Regions from separate parts of the Homo sapiens genome. Here all the other regions are linked to region 6. Evidence: promoter capture Hi-C in 16 types of primary human blood cells and fetal thymus (Javierre and others, 2016). All regions are on one chromosome and are shown on one strand. Each heading gives the region's core, a stretch centred on a gene start or on the middle of the fragment in contact. The rest is flanking DNA. Distances are from core to core; before and after follow the strand shown. Region 1 overlaps GPBP1 (GC-rich promoter binding protein 1). Region 2 overlaps MAP3K1 (mitogen-activated protein kinase kinase kinase 1). Region 3 overlaps MIER3 (MIER family member 3). Region 4 holds the start of LOC105378980 (a long non-coding RNA gene). Region 5 has its middle 3.6 kb from the start of MIER3. Region 6 holds the start of DHX29 (DExH-box helicase 29). Region 7 overlaps MAP3K1 (mitogen-activated protein kinase kinase kinase 1).

What was found. The method cuts DNA at HindIII sites, captures the fragments that hold promoters and counts their contacts. A CHiCAGO score of 5 or more calls a contact.
Region 1: a contact is called between a fragment that was not itself captured here and the fragment with the promoter of DHX29 in region 6, in 1 of 17 cell types (monocytes). The highest score is 5.0, in monocytes.
Region 2: a fragment that was not itself captured here is called in contact with the fragment with the promoter of DHX29 in region 6 in 4 of 17 cell types (monocytes, total B cells, total CD8 T cells and 1 more); the score reaches 7.8 in monocytes.
Region 3: a fragment that was not itself captured here is called in contact with the fragment with the promoter of DHX29 in region 6 in 3 of 17 cell types (monocytes, naive CD8 T cells and total CD4 T cells); the score reaches 6.9 in monocytes.
Region 4: a contact is called between a fragment that was not itself captured here and the fragment with the promoter of DHX29 in region 6, in 1 of 17 cell types (fetal thymus). The highest score is 5.2, in fetal thymus.
Region 5: a fragment that was not itself captured here is called in contact with the fragment with the promoter of DHX29 in region 6 in 3 of 17 cell types (monocytes, total B cells and non-activated CD4 T cells); the score reaches 7.0 in monocytes.
Region 7: a contact is called between a fragment that was not itself captured here and the fragment with the promoter of DHX29 in region 6, in 1 of 17 cell types (fetal thymus). The highest score is 5.2, in fetal thymus.

The regions. Positions count from the first base shown.
Region 1 is chr5:57,206,659-57,209,358 of GRCh38, reverse strand. The region is part of intron 2 of GPBP1 (GC-rich promoter binding protein 1); the gene reads right to left. Among named protein-coding and RNA genes, the nearest start is that of GPBP1, 34 kb to the right of the region's middle. The HindIII fragment of the contact is 3,262 bases long and covers 1-2,700 here.
Region 2 is chr5:56,872,707-56,875,406 of GRCh38, reverse strand. It overlaps MAP3K1 (mitogen-activated protein kinase kinase kinase 1), which reads right to left. Exons shown (of 20, transcript NM_005921.2): 8 at 2,685-2,700; 9 at 2,402-2,582; 10 at 97-375. Among named protein-coding and RNA genes, the nearest start is that of SETD9, 36 kb to the left of the region's middle. The HindIII fragment of the contact is 256 bases long and covers 1,125-1,380 here.
Region 3 is chr5:56,923,074-56,925,773 of GRCh38, reverse strand. MIER3 (MIER family member 3) reads left to right here. Exons shown (of 13, transcript NM_001297599.2): 11 at 1,732-1,859; 12 at 1,941-2,083; 13 at 2,189-2,700. The coding sequence ends at 2,646. It also overlaps a transcript of SETD9 not described here. Among named protein-coding and RNA genes, the nearest start is that of SETD9, 15 kb to the right of the region's middle. The HindIII fragment of the contact is 1,098 bases long and covers 880-1,977 here.
Region 4 is chr5:56,899,323-56,902,022 of GRCh38, reverse strand. It overlaps LOC105378980 (a long non-coding RNA gene), which reads left to right and starts at 1,957. Exons shown (of 3, transcript XR_948347.4): 1 at 1,957-2,026. RefSeq lists an enhancer at 2,119-2,288. The HindIII fragment of the contact is 7,054 bases long and covers 1-2,700 here.
Region 5 is chr5:56,954,388-56,957,087 of GRCh38, reverse strand. No RefSeq gene overlaps it. Among named protein-coding and RNA genes, the nearest start is that of MIER3, 3.6 kb to the right of the region's middle. The HindIII fragment of the contact is 1,830 bases long and covers 536-2,365 here.
Region 6 is chr5:55,306,409-55,309,108 of GRCh38, reverse strand. DHX29 (DExH-box helicase 29) reads left to right here and starts at 1,415. Exons shown (of 27, transcript NM_019030.4): 1 at 1,415-1,722. The coding sequence starts at 1,536. MTREX (Mtr4 exosome RNA helicase) reads right to left here and starts at 1,120. Exons shown (of 27, transcript NM_015360.5): 1 at 962-1,120. The coding sequence starts at 1,095. It overlaps LOC124900979 (a long non-coding RNA gene), which reads left to right. Exons shown (of 2, transcript XR_007058774.1): 2 at 672-960. RefSeq lists enhancers at 867-1,346, 1,487-1,746. The HindIII fragment of the contact is 7,705 bases long and covers 1-2,700 here.
Region 7 is chr5:56,844,811-56,847,510 of GRCh38, reverse strand. All of the region lies in intron 1 of MAP3K1 (mitogen-activated protein kinase kinase kinase 1), which reads right to left. Among named protein-coding and RNA genes, the nearest start is that of MAP3K1, 31 kb to the right of the region's middle. The HindIII fragment of the contact is 1,893 bases long and covers 473-2,365 here.

The DNA.
Region 1 (2,700 bases), core at 159-2,658, 1.9 Mb before region 6:
TGTGAAAAGCACTACACTCCAGCCTGGGGAACATAGTGAGACAGTGTCGTATTTTTTTAAATGGCATCCAAATTGGGAAGGAAAAAGTAAAATTATTCCTATTCACAGATTACATGATCTTACATAAATTCTAAAGAGTCCAGAAAAAATATGTATTAGAGCTAATTAAATTCAGGAACGCTGCCAAGATAGAAGATCAACACACAAAAACAGCTGTTTGTGTATACACTATTAACAATCCAAAAAAGAAATTAGGAAAACAACTCAATTCGCAGTAAAATCCAAAAGCATAAAATACCTATAATAAATAAATATAACCAAGAAAATGTTAAGACTTGCACACCAAAAACTATTAAGACAGTGCTGAAAGAAATGTTAAAAGACCTAAACAGAAAGACATCCCTGGCCCAGCACAGTGGCTCAAGCCTGTAATCCCAGCACTTTGGGAGGCCCAGGCAGGTGGATCACATGAGGTCAAGAGTTTGAGACCAGGCTGGCCAACATGGTGAAACCCCATCTCTGCTAAAATAAAGTATTAGCTGGGCATGGAGGCAGGCACCTGTAATCCCAGCTACTTGGAAGGCTGAGGTAGGAGAATCGCTTGAACCCAGGAGGCAGAGGTTGCAGTGAGCCGAGATCACGCCATTGCACTCCAGCCTGGACGACGGGGTGAGACTCTGTCTCAAAAAAAAAAAAAAAAAAAGAAAAACAAAAGACAGATATCCCTGTGTTTGAGGACTGGGAAACTCAACACTGTTAAGACAACAACACTACCCAAACATGATCTACAGATTCAACGTAATCTCTATTAAAATTCCAACACCCGGCCAGGCTACAGTGGTTCACGCCTATAATCCCAGCACTGTGGGAGGACAAGGTGAGCAGATCACTTGAGCTCAGTGGCTCAGGACCAGCCTGGGCAACATGGTGAACCCCGTCCCTACTAAAAATAAAAAAATCAGCCAGGCATGGTGGCTCGTACCTGTGGTCCCAGCTACTTGGGACACTGAGGCGGAAGGATTGCTTGAGCCCGGGAAGTGGAGGTTGCAGTGAGCCAAGATCACACCACTGCACTCCAGCCTGAGCAACAAAATGAGACTCTATTGATATGGAGGGAGGCAAGGAAGTGCTGGGAAGAAAAGGGCATGGTCCCTGGCTAGGGCTCCAATCCCCTGAGAAAGAGTAAGACCCTACTGATACAGAAGTGTGCAGGCAAGCGCTGGGAAGGGAAGGGCATGGTCCCTCGCGAGGGCTCCATCCCCGGTTCTGTGCCCACGGATCTAGGTGAGGACAGGCATTTCTGTTTTCCTGACCAAATGATGCATTTCCCAAGACCACTCTGCCAGTCACACCCCCATCGTGTGCCTATAAAACCCTCAGAGACTCTAGTAGGCAGAGACACAAGTGGCTGGACGTCATCGAGAGGGACATATCGGCGGAAGAACACACAAATAGCTGGATGTCCAGGGAAGCATGCCAGTGGAATACCACACTGACAGAAAGCAGGCTGGCAGGCCATCGACCAAAGAAGGGCATGAAGTTTGGCTGGGTTTGGCTGGTGCGGTCAGAGGAGAGCCCAGGTCACTGAGCTGCAGGACTCCAGGGGAAAACACCCTCCCACTCCATCTCCCTCCTGGCTTCCCATCCATCTGCTGGAAACTTCCACTCAATAAAACCTTGCACTCGTTCTCCAAGCCCACGTGTGATCTGATTCTTCCCATACACCAAGGCAAAAAAGCCCTCTGTCCTTGCGATAAGGCAGGGCATCTAACTGAGCTAACACAAGCCGCCTATGGATGGCTAGACTAAAAGGGCACCCTGTAACACATGCCCACTGGGGCTTCAGGAGCTGTAAACATTCACCCCTAGGTGCTGCCGTGGGGTCGGAGTCCCACAGCCTGCCCTGTCTGCATGCTCTCCCTAGAGATTTGAGCAGTGGGGTGCCAAAGAAGCAAGGCACACCCCCATCACATGCCCTGCAAAGGGGATAAGAGAACCTTTCACTAAGTTTCACTATTTCAAAAAAGAAAAAAAATCCAACACTCTCTTTTGTACAGAAATAAAAAAGGCTATTCTCAATTTCCTTTGGAAGTGCGAGGGGCCCTAAACATCCAAAAACAATTCAGAAAAAGAATAAAGTTACAGAACTCACACTTCCCTATTTCAAAACTTACTGTAAAGTAACAGTGAGCTGGCCATTTGTAGATCTTCTTAGGAAAAATATTCAAGTCCTTTGCCCATTTTGATTATTTTTCGAGACAAAGTCTCACTCTATCACCCAGGCTGGAGTACAGTGGCACTACCATGACTCAATGCAGCCTCCACCACCTGGGTGCAAACGACCCTACCACCTCATCCTCCCAAGTGGCTGGGAATATAGGCATGCCCCACCACACCAAGCTAATTTTAAAAATATTTTTCGTAGAGATGGGGTCTACGTTGCCCAGGTTGGTCTCAAACTCCTGGAATCAAGCAATCCTCGCACCTTGGCCATAGTGATCAAAACTGTAGTATGGCCTAAGAACAGACATATAAACCAGAAATAAGCCCACACATTTATATCCAAGTTATTTTCAACAAGAGTGCTAAGATGATTCAATACGGAATTGTCTTTTCAAAAAAACAGACTGGACAACTAAATAGCCATTGGACCCCCCTACCCAAACCATATACAAAAATAAACTCAGCTGGGTGCAGTAG
Region 2 (2,700 bases), core at 3-2,502, 1.6 Mb before region 6:
GGTAAAGTAGCTTTATTGTATCTTAAAAACACTATCTACGAACCATCAAAAAACCCCAAACCCATAATGATATGATTATGGAATAAAGCTACTTACTAAAGCAGCAACGTACACTTTGTAGACAGGGTCAGCACAGACCATTGACAGAACGCTGCAGCATGCCTCCACCACATCTCCTGAGATACTGGTCTGGGAAGACCCACTGGTGGCTCCCCCACTCGGGCTGCTTCCACTGCTGCCCCCAGAATTTCCAGTGCTCTCCCCATTTGCCAACAGCAGGGCCCCACTGACATCATGGGAAAGACGCCTGAGGGCCATCTCTCTCACATTCCAGTTTCTAGAAAATAAGCAGCCAACGAGTTCCATTCCAAACACCTGTATCAAACACACACGATGAATTCAATGTAAAGAAAAGCTTATGGACCCAGAGCATTTTGAGTTTAGCATCATTTTTGATTACTACGTAAAAACTGGACATTTCTGAAATCTTTACCATCCTTCACAACTTCAAATATATCCAGCCACTTAAGCATCATAAGGAAGAATTTTATACTCAAGTTTAACTGATAATTATCCAAAGTCATTAATATTTATTAGCTCAGGTAAAATTAATAATAAGCTCCATTAAGTCACTAGATGGCTATACATACATTCTATGCCTCTACTGTCCCACATGCTTACCAAAACGCCAAAAAACTGTGAAAACCTCAACTCTGTATTCATATTAAGGTAGTTTAAAGAGAAAAACTGGAGCAAGATTAAGAAAACAAACAAACAAACAAAAAACAAATCAAAAAAAGCACCAGGAGAAGGTTTCAAGAGATATAGAGTATTTCTCTTACAGACAAGAGCAATAAGCAAAACACATTTAATTGGTTTTTGTCTGTATAAAAAGGTTTAAAAAACTAGACAAAACAGGTAGGACTGTAAAACGAATGGAGTGGACAAATCAAACAACTGAAGAAAAAATGCTTGTGTTCGAGTAAGCAAAGGATAAATGTAGACGTAGAATTATAGTATATGCTGTTATCGTCGTCAATACCATGCCCCAAAAGCCAGAGTCCCTACAGTGAGGAAAGGGTGAATGGTCTTGACATTATGGGCCAATTAGCTAAAAGTAAGCTTAATACCTAAGATAATTCATTATGTGAAAAATGCCTAAATATTAAAGATGAATAAACACAACTTTTGAAAAACAGATCATAACATACTTATTTACATATGTTTTGTTATAAAGGGATATTATGGGAGAATGAACCAACTAGAATATAGTGAGCTTCTGGTACTGTTAAGTAGTGTACCACTACCTATGTTTTAACTGTCTTACCTAACATGCTTAATAAAAAGCTAGGAATGTAGAGCCTAGTCTGACCTAAAGCTTAGGCAAAACAAACTAGACCATATGCTTGAAAGAATGAACTCTAACAGCTCAGAATCAACTTGAGAGTTCTTTGATGGGTCATGAAAGGGCAGGTGAGGGCCTATGTTCATTAATAGTTCATTAAATTTCATTAATGAACTAGGTACAAGAATGTGTTTAATATTTTTGCAGATTTTATTAGATTCATAAATGGGTTGCTAATATGCTAAGAGAATTCCAAAGCTGCAGGACTGTAATGGTCACAAAAGAAAAATGTAACAAATCCTAATGATATATAAGCTCAATGTGTTAATGCACCTGTTCACAAATTTAATTCAACAGAATTTAACAGATTATTGAAAATAATTATTTTACTTTATTATTGTCTACTGGAGACCCGTCTGGTTTTAGATCCTACATTTAAAAAATAATAGACTGAGCATTCAACAACCAAGAAAATCATTACAAACCAACTGACAAAAAAGCCCTACTTACTGAGGATGAAAAAACATTCAATCAGAAGAGATGGTAAAGGGATGGGAAACTGTTCTTACAAATAAAAATGATGAACTCAAGGTAACCATCACATATTTTTTTCTTATTCATCTCCTCTGCAATTATTAAGCACCCATTGTATGCCATTAGGATATGAAAAGAGAAATTAATTTTAAATGGCAGCAAATAAGAAACATGATAAAAATTCTTGGCAGGCACGGGGATTAAACATTGGGAAAAGTTAGCATTGAAGGGTTCTGGTTTCTATCCTTCTATCCTTGAATAACCCCGTATGTCCGTTAGTTCAGGAAGAGATGTTTCTAGATATGTGAAGTGAAACCACAAGAAGTTTTGAAGTTGAAGCTGTACAATAAGCAGTATAGTATTAATACCAAAAGTAACATTAAAATTTCCAGTGGAATGAAGGTCATGATGGAGGCAAGTAAAAGTGTTTTTTTAAATTATGAACAACTGAGGGAAGGAGACAAATACATTAATTGATCTATAAATATTTCTTTGAGAAATGAAAAACAAAGAACTACTTACCTGAATCCATGGCTCAGCTAAATCTTTGTAAGCAGGAGGGATTTGCTGAGTTCCATAATGAGTAAGGTTAAAATTGCTCTCTTGATTCCTTCGTGATCCAGCCAAAGGCTGCTGCTGTACGGTTTGCTGCTGTGCAGCTCTGAGGGAAGAAGGGGAATCCACAGGACTTGACAACTCGTGGCTAAAATGAAAAATAACAAAACTTGCTTTAAAAAAATTAAGACAAACCACACTGAGAAATTTTTAAAAATTAAACATATCCGTATCATTTCAAAATTATTACCTGTAGAAATCATGAG
Region 3 (2,700 bases), core at 179-2,678, 1.6 Mb before region 6:
ATTTTGCCTTTCCATATAAAATTAGTTTGTTGATACCCACAAAATAACTTGCTGGGATTTTGATTGGGTTTGTGCTAAATCGGTAGATCAAGCTAGGAAGAACTGACGTCTTAACAATGAAGTGTCTTCTTATCCATGAACATAGAATATTTCTTCGTTAAGTTCTTCTTTGATTTCTTTAATCAGAGTTTGGTAGTTTTTCTCATACAGATTTTGCATATATTTTGTTATATTTATACCCAAGTATTTTAATTTTGGGGTGCTAATGTAAATGGTCTTGTGTTTTAAATTTCAAATTTCAATCGTCATTGCTGTTATATAGGAAAGCAGTTGACTTTTGTGTATTAACCTTGTCTCCTGAAACTTTGCTGTAAGTGCTTATTAGTTACAGGCGATTTTTTGTTGATTCTTTGGAGTTTTCTACGTAGACAGTCATGTCACCTGTAAACAGAGACAGTTTTATTTCTTCCTTCCCAATCTGTATACTTTTTATTTCTTTTTCTTGTCTTACTGCATTAGCTAGACCTTCCAGTATTGATGTTGAAAATTTCACACTTTCTGTATGTTTGAAAATCTAATGTTTCTCAAAGATGAGATAAAGCGTATAATTTAAGACATTTTTAAAGAAGTCTGGATTGTCCTTTTAAGTAAAAAAAACCATCAGTTTTGTAATGACTTATGAAATTTACTCTATCCATTCATTCCGTAAACAGTTATGTCCTTCCACTTCACTTACCAGACATTGTTTTAGGCACTAGAGATACAACAGTGAATAAGACAGAAAAGGTCTGTAGCCCCACGAAGCCTGCATTCTCTGCGAAGACTTATAGTTAATGATGTTTATTGAAAGGTATACTGTATTTCTTGGTTTAAAAAGCTTATTCCCATATTAGTAATCTTATATCACAACTTACTCAGGAGTCAGGTTAGAGATACTGAAACTTCTTTATCGGGTACTGATTAAGCAAGGGAGAAAGCATTTATTGGATAAGGATGAAGAATTTTGTTCATACATCTGAATTCATATCTGTGGCTGTATGTGGTTAGAGGAACCCTGGTTTGGGTGTGGAGCCAAGGTGGTGAGGCTCAAATTTTATTGTTGTTGTTTCCAAAATCTGTTGGATCTAAAAACCAAACATACTGGAGGGAGAAAGCCCTGCCTTTAGCTAGCAAGTCATCTTAAATTCCAGATGCTGTAGACCGTTGGTCCATTTGCCAAGGGTTCTTAATCTCTTTTGGAAAGTGGAACTCAAATCTGATGAGGCTGCATTCCTTCTCTCCAGAAAAATATACCTAAATATAATTTTGTGAATTAATAGATCTCAATGAAATCCATTTATGGACCCCTCAGGGGTTAGTTAATCCAAAGTTAAGAACCCTCACTGTAGTCAAAATCACAGAGCTCAGTAAAGAAAAGTAAAGAATGCTAGTGTTTAAGATTTTCAGTGAAGGTGTAAGATAATTTCTGGATACACACTTGTTTTATAAACTAATACATTCTGATTTTTTTAAAAAAAAAACCTTGGGCTTTCGAAAATGGCCTCATTATTAAATGTAAAGGCATTCCACTAATCAAAGTGTTCAGAACTTTATAATTTATTAAAAGTGTTCAGAACTATATAATGGGAAAATAAGACCCATGGATTGAAGTTGTAGTGTTGTGGAAAAGAAAAGTTGCTTAAAAAAATGGTTGAGTTTGTTGGTTTTTTAAAAATTCAACTTTTTCATTAGGTGAGAACTAGGACAGTTGCTGAGTGTGTAGCATTCTACTATATGTGGAAGAAATCTGAACGTTATGATTACTTTGCTCAACAGACAAGATTTGGGAAAAAAAGATATAACCATCACCCTGGAGTTACGTAAGTACTGTGGCCTTGCCTTCAAAGACTTACTTTTAACTGTAATATATAGTCATAAAATTACTGGGGTGTGTTTTTCAGGGACTATATGGATCGTTTAGTAGATGAAACAGAAGCTTTGGGTGGGACGGTAAATGCTTCAGCCTTAACTTCTAACCGGCCTGAGCCTATTCCTGATCAACAGCTAAACATTCTCAACTCCTTCACTGCCAGTGACTTGACAGGTAAAATGAAGACCTTTCTGCATTTAGTACAGTTTGTTGCAAAATTGTGTCCTCTGTTTGATGTCATAGGACCACTTACTTAAACAATTTTCCATTCCTTTTTAGCTTTGACCAACAGTGTAGCAACCGTCTGCGACCCCACAGATGTGAATTGTTTGGATGATAGCTTTCCTCCACTGGGCAACACACCCCGTGGACAAGTTAATCATGTGCCTGTTGTAACAGAAGAGTTACTCACCCTGCCCAGCAATGGGGAAAGTGATTGTTTTAATTTATTTGAGACTGGATTTTATCACTCGGAGCTAAACCCTATGAACATGTGCAGTGAAGAGTCAGAGAGACCAGCAAAAAGATTGAAAATGGGCATTGCCGTCCCTGAATCCTTTATGAATGAAGTTTCTGTAAATAACCTGGGTGTGGACTTTGAAAATCACACACATCACATCACCAGTGCCAAAATGGCTGTTTCTGTGGCTGACTTTGGCAGTCTCTCTGCCAACGAGACCAATGGTTTCATCAGTGCCCATGCTCTGCATCAGCACGCGGCCCTACACTCTGAGTGACCTGAGTGAGGATCCCGGAACTGCGTGTGCAGCACCAGTAAACTTGAGGGGAGC
Region 4 (2,700 bases), core at 1-2,500, 1.6 Mb before region 6:
AAAATAATTTTGTGCTGCAGGACCTAAAATATTGCATAAAAAGGAGGAGAAAATGATCTCTGCTAGTCTTTGTATGAATTAGCAAAAGGCACCTTTTCCTTTGGCCACTTTACTGCCATCGACTGTAAAAAAATGTAATAAATATACAAATCTATTAGGACTATACTGTGCAGCATGCTCCATATAGGTATGTAGTACACCAGCTAGTTTTGGCAGTCTTGGGAATCGACTGGAAGGTTCTGTGGCAGCACTTCTTGACTGCTCTGAGAACAAAAAGTTTGAAAACCACTGGTGTGAGGGAAGGTGCAGAGGTGGGGTGGAACACAATGGATTCAGAGAGCAGGAATGTAACGAAAGGAGTAGAACAGAAATTTTGTATTACGGATAGTAGGAAATAAAGATTTAGGCAGAATAAGGTCAGACCATTAAAAAACATGGACATTTGAGGTAGTCAGCAGTAGATAGTCATTGAATGTTCTAGTAGCAGAGTACTAGCTGGAAATAGAGTTTGAAAAGCTCAGAGGAACAGTAGTTGGCAGGATGCATGGATGGATAGATGCATGGATGGATATGGATGGATGGATGGACAGATGGATGGATGGATGGATGGATGGATGGATGGATGGATGGATGGATGGTTGGATGGATGGATGGATGGATGAATGGATGGATGACCCAGCCAGCTGAGAGTAGAGTGGTTCTGAGAACAAGAGACCAGGAAAGGGCATCAAGTATCTTGCTACAGCCTCTCCTTTTGTTGTAGACTGTTAGGAGCGGGTAGAGGGACTAGGAATACCCTGTTATGCAATAGATAAGCATAGAATCTAGGTTTTAGAATGGAAAAATGCAACTCTTAGTGATAGTTTTGAGTTTTTTTCAGTATTCTAAGGGGGAACACTGAGATTTCTGCTCTATTCCTGAGGAAGGGGTGAGATAACCTTTGATTTTCAGATATCTGGCAGGCAGTGCAAATTAAAAGTTTTACTCTGCTGCCCTCTTCTGGAGGTTGCATAATTGCCCAAATAATTCTTCCACGTTGTTCCCTTCACTTTTGCTCCTAGACAGACTTCTGGACAAAGTAGGCTATGCACATCATCTCCATGACCATGCTTGCCCAGCTATGATCATGTTTCCTTCTAGTCGGCTTCACTGGAATGGTCCTTGCCATTCACCTTGTGAGACTTAAGTTCTTATCTTACCTGACGTCTGTGGCTTTTGAAATTACTGACCTTTCTTTAAAACATTCTCCTCTCTTGATTTCCCTGACCCTGTGCGTTTCTAGTTTCTGAAGATGAGCTCTTGTCTCCTTTATCTATTCTGCTTCTTGTCTATGCCTTAAATCTTGGTCTTCATCGGGGTTCTGGTCTTGGTTTTTCCTCACTGAACATATTCTCCTGAGTATTCTCCCCCGTTTCCCTTGTGACTCATTGTGGTAGATGCTGTAGAGTTGCCTGCTTGATGTCCATTCTTCTCAGACTTCCTTATAGCTAGGGAGTTCTAGTCAAATGAAATGTGAGTGAAAATCTCGTAAGCATTTTAAGGAAAGTTTCTGTCTTCCTGACACAGGCACTACCTTTTTATTCTCCTTTTTCTTTCCCTGATTGTAGATTGGAGATCAGAGTTGGAGCCTGAGGGTGAAAGCCTCATGCTGAGAAGAGTGGAGCGGGAAGATAAAGCATGGCAACATTGATGACACCCTAGGCCTAATACACCAGCCCTGACCTGCTTACCTTCTCTCATTTGTAGGCTATGTAGTCCAGTCACTTTTACGTGCAGCTGAGTACAACCCTAAATGATATATCAATCGCTTCAGTGACCATTTATATGTCAATAGCTTGCACATTTATTATTTGCAACCAAAGTATCTCTGGAGGTACTCATGTGCATATACAGTATTACTGGAAACTTCTACTTGGATATCCTCCAGGCAACTCGAATATTTTAACATGGCCAAAGCACATCTTGTCCTCCAACCTACTCCCCCTGTGATTTCCTTGTATCAGTAATGGCACCAGCGTTCACACAGGTGACCAAGCCTGGATAGCAGACGCATCCTCGATGTCATTCTCCATCCTCCGCATACCCTTCCCCCAAGATCATTTCTACAATCTTTCAATTCTGCTGTTTAATATCGCTCAGATTTGTCTCTTCCTCCTCATTCCCATGATGCTACCTTCACCTAGGTTCTGGATACTGCAATTGCCTTCTGACTTTCTCTCTGCCTTTTGTACTGGCCCATGTAATTCTTTCTTCAAGGTACTGCAAGGGTGCTCTTTCTAACGCACAAATATCGTCATGCCACTCTCTGCCAAAGATTTTTCAATATCTCCCCATCTTTTTATTTCTCCTCCTATCCTTTCTCTCCATTTCACCCTAGTTACAACCCTCATCCTCTCAGTATGTCTACATAGATGTTGAGAAATCTTATTAAGTAAATTGACCTTAAGGGAAGCTATCACTTAGTTATCTCAAAAATAAACTCTAACAGGAATCTCAGCATTGTGGGAAAAAGAATTTTGGGGCATGAAGGATTTATCCCTTGCCACATCAGCTTAGGCTGGTTTTACCTCTACAGATGTAATAAGTTACAACCTAGGGCCATGAGGCATGGGGTATAGAGATGTCAGGTTGCATACCAACTAATGAGACTGGCTTCAGTCATCGATGGAGTTCTTTTGGTAACGGACTGTGCAGACAGTT
Region 5 (2,700 bases), core at 201-2,700, 1.6 Mb before region 6:
CCCTTTTCTGAGCCTGTTGAGTTAAATAATTGCCTCTACGTGAAACAGTACAATTAACAGTCATTTGATAAGTCTTGGCAAAGGCTTTTTTGGTAATCTTCATCAAAATTGAAGTGAATTATAGTGATGAGCTATAATAGCTTTGTAAAAAATCCTCTTTCAAGTCAGGTAGCTTTTAACTCTTAGCTTTCAACAAAGTTGAAGGAACACATTTAAAACATCAGCGTATAGATCATTAAAAATAATGTTTGATAGAAGATCATAACATGATGTATTACTAAGGAGATATTACTAAGGAGATCAACAAATTGAGTGATGGTTTAGTAACAAAACCCTTCCATTTCTATCTATTTGTGTATGAATATGGTTTCTCAAACCTTACTTCTGTATAAATAAAGACTAAGAATAAAATTGATGTTAAACTCCCATTCTAGCATTAAGTAATATTCATCCATGGGTACATGAATTAATTTTTAAAGATCCTATTCATCTTATCAATAGATTGATTTCCAATGCAATTTTTGTTCAAAAAGCTTTACTCAAAACTTGTAATACATGTATATTGCTTAGATCAAATGTAAATTAGTAGTAATTGTACTGATAATTCAATCTGGAGGAAAATTATTTCTCTTTACTATCAATTTACAAGGATATTTTTGTTGCAGATAAAGATTGTAGGGTATCAACAAAAGACTTCTAAGCATAAAGCATATTACACTTCTTTGGAGAAAGTAGAATGGGAATATGAGTTCAAGGAGAAAAAGGAATCATGTAAAATTTCATACCATTCAAGAAACATGTTTATGTCTTTTTAAAAGAATAATGAAATATCAAATTGTTATGGTATTTAGATTCCATTGCATACATTTTAAGTGTTATATAATGGCTTTATTTTTAAATGACCATCATTACGAAAGGTAAGTACATCCTTTGCAGCCATTTAAATTTATAATGACAAAATTAGAAGTCAATTGGAATACATAAGAAGGGATAGAGTTATTACAAATTCTTTTGAGGATGTTCCTGCAATTTAAAGTCATTGACTTGGAAGTTCCAATTGGGTATGCTTGCACAGCTATGTCAGCCTGATGCATCCATCTCATTTTAAGAATGGCCCTGACTCACAGGCTGGATATATGTTCATGTATATGGACCAAGTTCCCTTCTTAGAAACGAACTGAAACCTTTTTTGAACTGTGAGAACTCTCTCTTTTTTAAAGTTACCATGCAGATCATCTTTCTTTTGTTAAGAATCTTTTGTTTAGGCAAAACTTACTATGATCAGTTAGCTTTCTCAGAGAGTGGCCATTCATTCCAACAAAAAATATTTAATTGAATATCACGCAGGAGAAGTAGATAAATTTAGAAAAATGCAAGTAGTTTGGCCTGATGCTGGGTCTAACTGTTGGCATTACAGTCTTACAAGCTATGCTGAGAAGTAACGCTAAGATGATGTTCTAGATCAGGTTCGCAAACTGGAAGCTCCCAGGCTAAATATGATTTACTTAACATGATTTATTTGATCTACACTGTGTTTAAATTTTTAAAAAATTAGTTGACAAAATTTTACGACCAGGAGATATAACATAAAAATTCAGTTTTCCAGCTGTTCTTGGAAAATTGAAACTGGAAACATTGGGCCAGTAAGCTGAAACTGACCCAAGTAGTGCATAGTGGTTTCCATCTTTAAGTAGGACACGTCTCCAAATTTGCTATTACTCCTGCGTTTGTCTACACTAGCCTGCTTCACTCATTCATTATGCCTGCCTGACTACTATGGGCATTTGAGATTGAGACATTAACTTTGGTTTATTAGTTTCCCATGGGTTAGATGGAATCTGCAGAAGCCTAAATATCTATGTTGCATTACTGTGGCCCCATTAACTGCTTTCAGTAGGTCATTCATATTGTGCTCTCAACTTTCATAGACAGTTACCAAAAGAATTTGTATATTTCTCCTACATTTGTATGCTTCTCCAATGAGAAGCAAGCAACTGATTACATTCACCTTTTTTGCTTTGGCTGCCAGAAAGCTCTACATTTATGGCTTAACTATTGTATTGTGTTAATACCTCATAACCTGCAGATCCTTGTCCTTACTTTTTCTTTGGTGTTAACCTCCTAGTCTAGTTAGTTTCGTTGGTCCTCATTTTTTTATATATGTTTTTTTATTTTATTGTATGAATTTACTGGAAGCCTCTAAAATTACATGTTTATAAATAAAGCTGTATTGATTTATTTCCTTTCTAAAGATGGTTGGAGGATCTATGACATTTTGGTTCTCCTTAGGAGGTTACTATGGTTTTTAGTTTTCCTTGCTCACATATCCATTTACCACCTATGGAAATTACTTAGATTGTAAGCTTTTGGGGGACAAGGACATTTTTATGGTGGTCCCACAGTGCCCAGCATCTAGCACTTTCTATATAATGCCCTGTATTGCATAGTTACAGGATAATAAAAGTAAAAAGTAATAGTATTTTAATTTAAACTCCTTGGGTCACAAGGATTTTTAATCTGTACTGACTCATGAAAGTCTTGTCAATCAGAAAGAATGAGAGCTCCATCTACATATAGACTTTACACACTTTATCATAAAGGAATGTGTTATGTAAGACTGAGTGATAAACTTTCTCTAGTGATCAGGTGGGGGAAAGTAGCTCTGCTACCTTCAACTGCTAATAAATTTAGCTTCATTTA
Region 6 (2,700 bases), core at 166-2,665:
TTGTATATAAATAAGCCTTCCTGAAAGTCAGAAATAGGATCTCCCTTTCTTGAACTTTTATAACACTTAATTGTATATATCATTCATTTTAAGTTAACGACCTCCTCACCTATACTGTAACTCTTTAATGGGTACCTGTTCTCTTTCCCTACACCGAAAATTCCTTGAGAGCAAAATCATGTCTAATTTAATTTCAAGCATCTATTGGGTATCTGGCCCCACAATGCCAAGAGTATATTTTGTTGATTGTTAATTAATCATCTTACTTTATTTAATACAAGTAATAGCTTTTCCTTGTTCTACTATAAACAGATCTGTACACTTTCTGGTGGCTGTATGCACCAGTCTAAACATATGGGTAGGGTCCAGTAATTTTTAAATTTTTTCTCAATAAACTCACGATAGCTACCATTTATTAGTGATAGCTAGCTAACCACTGTTAGGCACTTTACACGTGTATCTCATTGAATCCTCATATCCACCAGTGGTAGGCACTATTATCTCCATTTTACGGAAGAGAAAACTACTACATCTTGGAGATTAAATGTCTCTCCCTTCTCATGTTATTATCTGCCCTTTCCCCTCCAAATCAATTCATATCATTTTTTCTAAACCTTTTCACCTTTTACTCAACTAATCATTCGTTTTGTTTATTAACGACTATGTGCCAGGTGTTGTGCTGATGCAGGAGACAACCGCGAAGATGGGGACAGAATCAGTAACATCGACGTAAGGGAATTGAAGCAGAAGATCACGCTGCCTGCAGACACCAGGAAACGCCAAGACCCCCCTTCCACGAACCAACATTCTTCCACCCTCTCCAACTTTTTTCTGGAACCCCTTCACTTCCAACGCCACTCAATGTACACTTCACTTTCTCGTGCTCTTCCTAAGAGAGTAGTGTTTTCTTCCTCCCCACCGAGAAAAAAAATAAAAGCAACAACTGGAACTTCTTCCTTACCCTGCCTTGTCTGCAGACCCTGGAGGCCCCTTCCATTTCCCCTTGTCCTTTTCCTTGTCTTTTTTGGTTCCCGCCGCAGTGGTCGAGTCGCCCTCGAACACGCTGAACAGCTCATCTCCGAATGCGTCCGCCATTTTTGGGAGCAGTGAGAGCAAATCTCCCTCCTACCCACGATGCCCCGCGACCGAAGACAGTGACGTCTCGTGAAGGCTCAACAGTGGCCCGCAGGAGACAAAAGTAGTCGAGTCGCGCAGCCGACAAAAATGTTCCCCTGACTTTTTTTTTTTTTCCTGCTTTTCTTTCCTTTCCTTTCCGACCTAAAGTGGATAAGCTGCTCAGTGGATAAAGAGCGAGGGCGGCGCGTGGCGCCTGGCGTGTGGCAGGCAGCTGGCGACTCAAGGAGGCGGAGCCTGCTGAATTCGACCAATTGCGAGGCAGCGGTCGCCCCGGCCCGAGAAGCCCGGATCGAAGCGCAGGGTGGCAGCCCCGGAGCCGGGGAATGTGAAGAGCTCTCGGCTGTGCAGTGGTACCGTCGGGGCCTGGGCCGCGAAGGATCTTCTGCCACAGCTGCAACATGGGCGGCAAGAACAAGAAACACAAGGCTCCAGCGGCCGCGGTGGTCCGGGCCGCCGTGTCTGCTTCCAGAGCCAAATCTGCCGAGGCTGGAATTGCCGGGGAGGCCCAAAGCAAGAAGCCAGTGTCCAGGCCGGCCACCGCTGCCGCTGCCGCTGCCGGCTCCAGGGAGCCCCGTGTCAAGCAAGGTACGAGAGGTCCCCCAGCCCCTGGCTGTCTGCCCTGAGACCTTGCTGCTTGTCCTGAGGAAAGGGCCTTAGAACCCGGGAGGAGCTTCGGGCCCAACATTTCTATTTCCCAACACTCGAGCTGCTACCTCCCCATGGGGTGGCCTTGTTTTAGATTAAAAAAGTCTAAGCTCTTTGGGCCTCCAAAATTCTGACAGTAGCCCTGTTGCAGCCTGGCATTTCTCTTTTAACTCACACTTCTCCCCCTTCTAAAAACAAAATAATTGCATTAGCTCCTGTTTCAGCAGGAATTCATCCTGAGCACCATCTCAGCTAGCTAGGCTAACGCAAAGACGAGTACTGAGTGGAGTTCCTGACCTCCTGGTGCCAGCCAGCCCCATTTTCTGTCAGTTTTTCATATCATTTTCAGCAACAATCTAGTGTCTCCATGCGTTCTGGAAAAATCAATACTTAATAAAAATTACAGGACTTACACACTGGTTACACACTGGTTACGTGTAATCTATTGTAAAATTGTCTGCCCTCGTTTCTGCCGCCATGCAGTTTTGCTTACTGTACAAATTGATTTGACAACTCAACTTATAGATGGCCGATTCCTGCTGCAGATGAGCAGGCCACATATTACGGTTGAGCTCAAAAGATGAACAATTACATTCTGTTGTGTTCTTCTCGGGTTGTTTGCTTGTACTTATTGGAGTATTCAAGAAATATTTGCTGAGCATTTATGTGTATATATGCAAATATTTAGTATGTGTCTGATAAGATGTGAGGAATGTGATGAGCAAAAAGAGACATCACCTCATGGAGCTTGCCAGTCTAATGTCAGAGATAGGTATTAACTAATAGGTAACGCACACAGACATATTTATAGCCTTATAATAGATAAGTGCCACAAAGAAAAGCCAGGGAAGACAGTTTAACAGGGTAATCTAATTTTTCTCGGGATGAGCAGGTATCATGGATGGTGTCTGGAAATGT
Region 7 (2,700 bases), core at 170-2,669, 1.5 Mb before region 6:
AATTCTGCAGCCTCGCCTCCCTAGTAGCTGGGATTACAGACGCCCAACACAACGCCCAGCTAATTTTTGTATTTTTAGTAGAGATGGGGTTTCACCATGTTGGCCAGGCTGGTCTCAAACTCCTGACCTCAAGTGATCCACCCACTTCGGCCTCCCGAAGTACTGGGATTACAGGCATGAGCCACCACGCCCGACCAAGTCTTTTTTACTTTTAAACTAACATACAAACATTATGGATGTACTTCAACAGTCTCCAAAGTCACTGACATATTTAAGATAAAACACTAAGGCTAAACTTTCAGGTGGCCATGTTTAAATATGGATAAACATCATCAAACGAAAGGGGCTATATTCCTTGCAGCTGAAACCCAGATAAACACTAAGAAAAAGATAAAATGCAAAAAGGTTTTCTAAATCATCTCTTTACACCTGCCTAGTTCCAGAAAGAAAATAAGGCAGTAGTGTAAAAGCTTGGTTATGGTGTTTCTTTGGCACACTCATGTCTCTCAGAAATGTAGCTGGCAGATTCCATTAAAAACTACCACATTCAAGTTATTAATGTACCACAATAAATCAATCCAATACACATTACTAAGCACATCACTAATAGAATTGAGATGTTCTGTTCAAATTTGGAAAAAGAAAAGTTCTTTCTTCTAAATGTGTTAATAGATGAACAGAAAAATCAACAAATTTATACAATAATGAAACTAAATATGTACACTTTGTTAAGCCACGGAAACAATCATGAGCACTGACAGGTCAAGAAAACGTCAAACTGCAACGAAGTCAAAACTTGCCAGGAGGAAATATAATCCAAACAAGTCAAATACACATCAGAATTCGGAGAGGGGGACATGGAGATATAGCCATGCAGAAGTAATCAAGAATATGCAGTGACTCTTAAAATTGGTAGGGATTTTAAATAAATCTAAAAGAGATAAGACAAATCAAGTTAGTAAGCAAGTTAACTTGGTAGCAAATGAAAACTCTAGAAGACTAGCAATTTGAGTTAGCGAATGAAAATCCTAGAAGACTATCAATTTGAGTCAGGTACAATTATTTTTTAAAGAGCAGGTGAGGAGAAAAAGCAGGAGGTGAAGGAAGACTTGTTTTCAAGCGAACACCCTTGGTGTGTAGGCATAAAAGAAAACAAATTGGACTAGAATGAAGCCAATATGTTGTTAGTTCTATTGTGACCTAAGACTCAAGTTCAATGAAATCTGCTGACATATCACAAATTATGAACTATAATATGTGGGTAATATTTACATAGGCAAATGAAAATTGTAAAAATGGTCAGACCTGAACAGAAATATGAGTTTGGTGATTCTGTATGATTCATCATCTTAGAAAACATATAAAAACGTTAGTGACAGAAAAACAACATTGTTCTGCCATTTAAGACAACAAAACAAATGAATTGTAAAGTTACTGTCTGTCTTAGGAATATTTACTACTTAGACTAAATATTGCTTTAAAACACTTATATCACTCATCAGAGTAATCAGCTTTGTAACAGTACTTCTAAATACTAGGACTCTTTCACCTATCTCCCTGCGGGGAGAAACTCAGAACATCCATCAGGCTTAAGGTAAACTATGTTCTGAGCACCCAACAGAGGGAGTTTAAAATTAATATGGTCCCATTTCCCACTTGTTCCTTTCCAACAAAAACCCATAAAACCTTGTATTCTTTTGACATTCTGCGCTAAAAATTCCACTGTTTATTCTTTCCTTTGTTGTGTCCTTGGTACTTGAGGAAAAACCTTTAGAAACCTTTGGGGAAAAATGAAACATTGTGAGTATCCTCTTCCCTAATTGTTGAACACAGATCAGTAAGTAAGAAGGATGTTTTTAAAAACAAAACAAAACAGTTTTTGGCTAAACGTGTTTTTCCTTTTAAGAATCCCCCCTTGCTACTTGACAAATCTAGGGCTGGGAATGTCTACAAGACAACTGATGCATAAACCTAGAGAGACGTTACACTAGAGAAGTAGGTTGGAACTTCCTACACTACTACTGTGGGGGGAGGGGTGTTCTCAGCAAGGCCATGCATCCTGCCCTTATCTGGGGGCACTGGTACAGAATGCATGGCACAGTGAAATGAAAACCTCTGTTCCTTCACCATTTGGGTGTTCATTAAAAAGATCCCAAGTCAGTGTTACATGAAGGCTGCAGTGTATGTTTTCTCCTATGTTTACTTGTTACCTTTGGGGAAATGTGGCAGTGCAGTTTGAGTATACTTCTAAGTGGTCAACTCAACAGGGCTAGTACATACTTACGAAAGTGGTCTGTTAGTATATGTAGGTTATGGCATAATACAACTTACTATAATTCTTACCCCACTAACAAAATTTAAAGCTTCTGTATTTTAAGAAGTTATAGATATGTAATATTTTGAGTGAATACCTTCTATTTTAAAAAAGCCCTTAACTGTTTTTAATGCTCTGAGATTAAAGGAGAAGAGGGGATAACCCCGAATTAGCATACAAAGCCCTCTTACAGTCTTTGCTAGGAGAAGGATTTCTTTCAAAATTCTACAGAACAGCTAGTACTATACTATTTCCTTCCACCTGGTAAAAAGGCATGTTAACTGGGATGCTCAGAATGAGGAAGAATGACTTCCTGACAAATGCAGCTTTTCTTCTTTATGCTTTGAATGCTAGCAAACCACTCCGTTCAATGAATGCTGGCACAC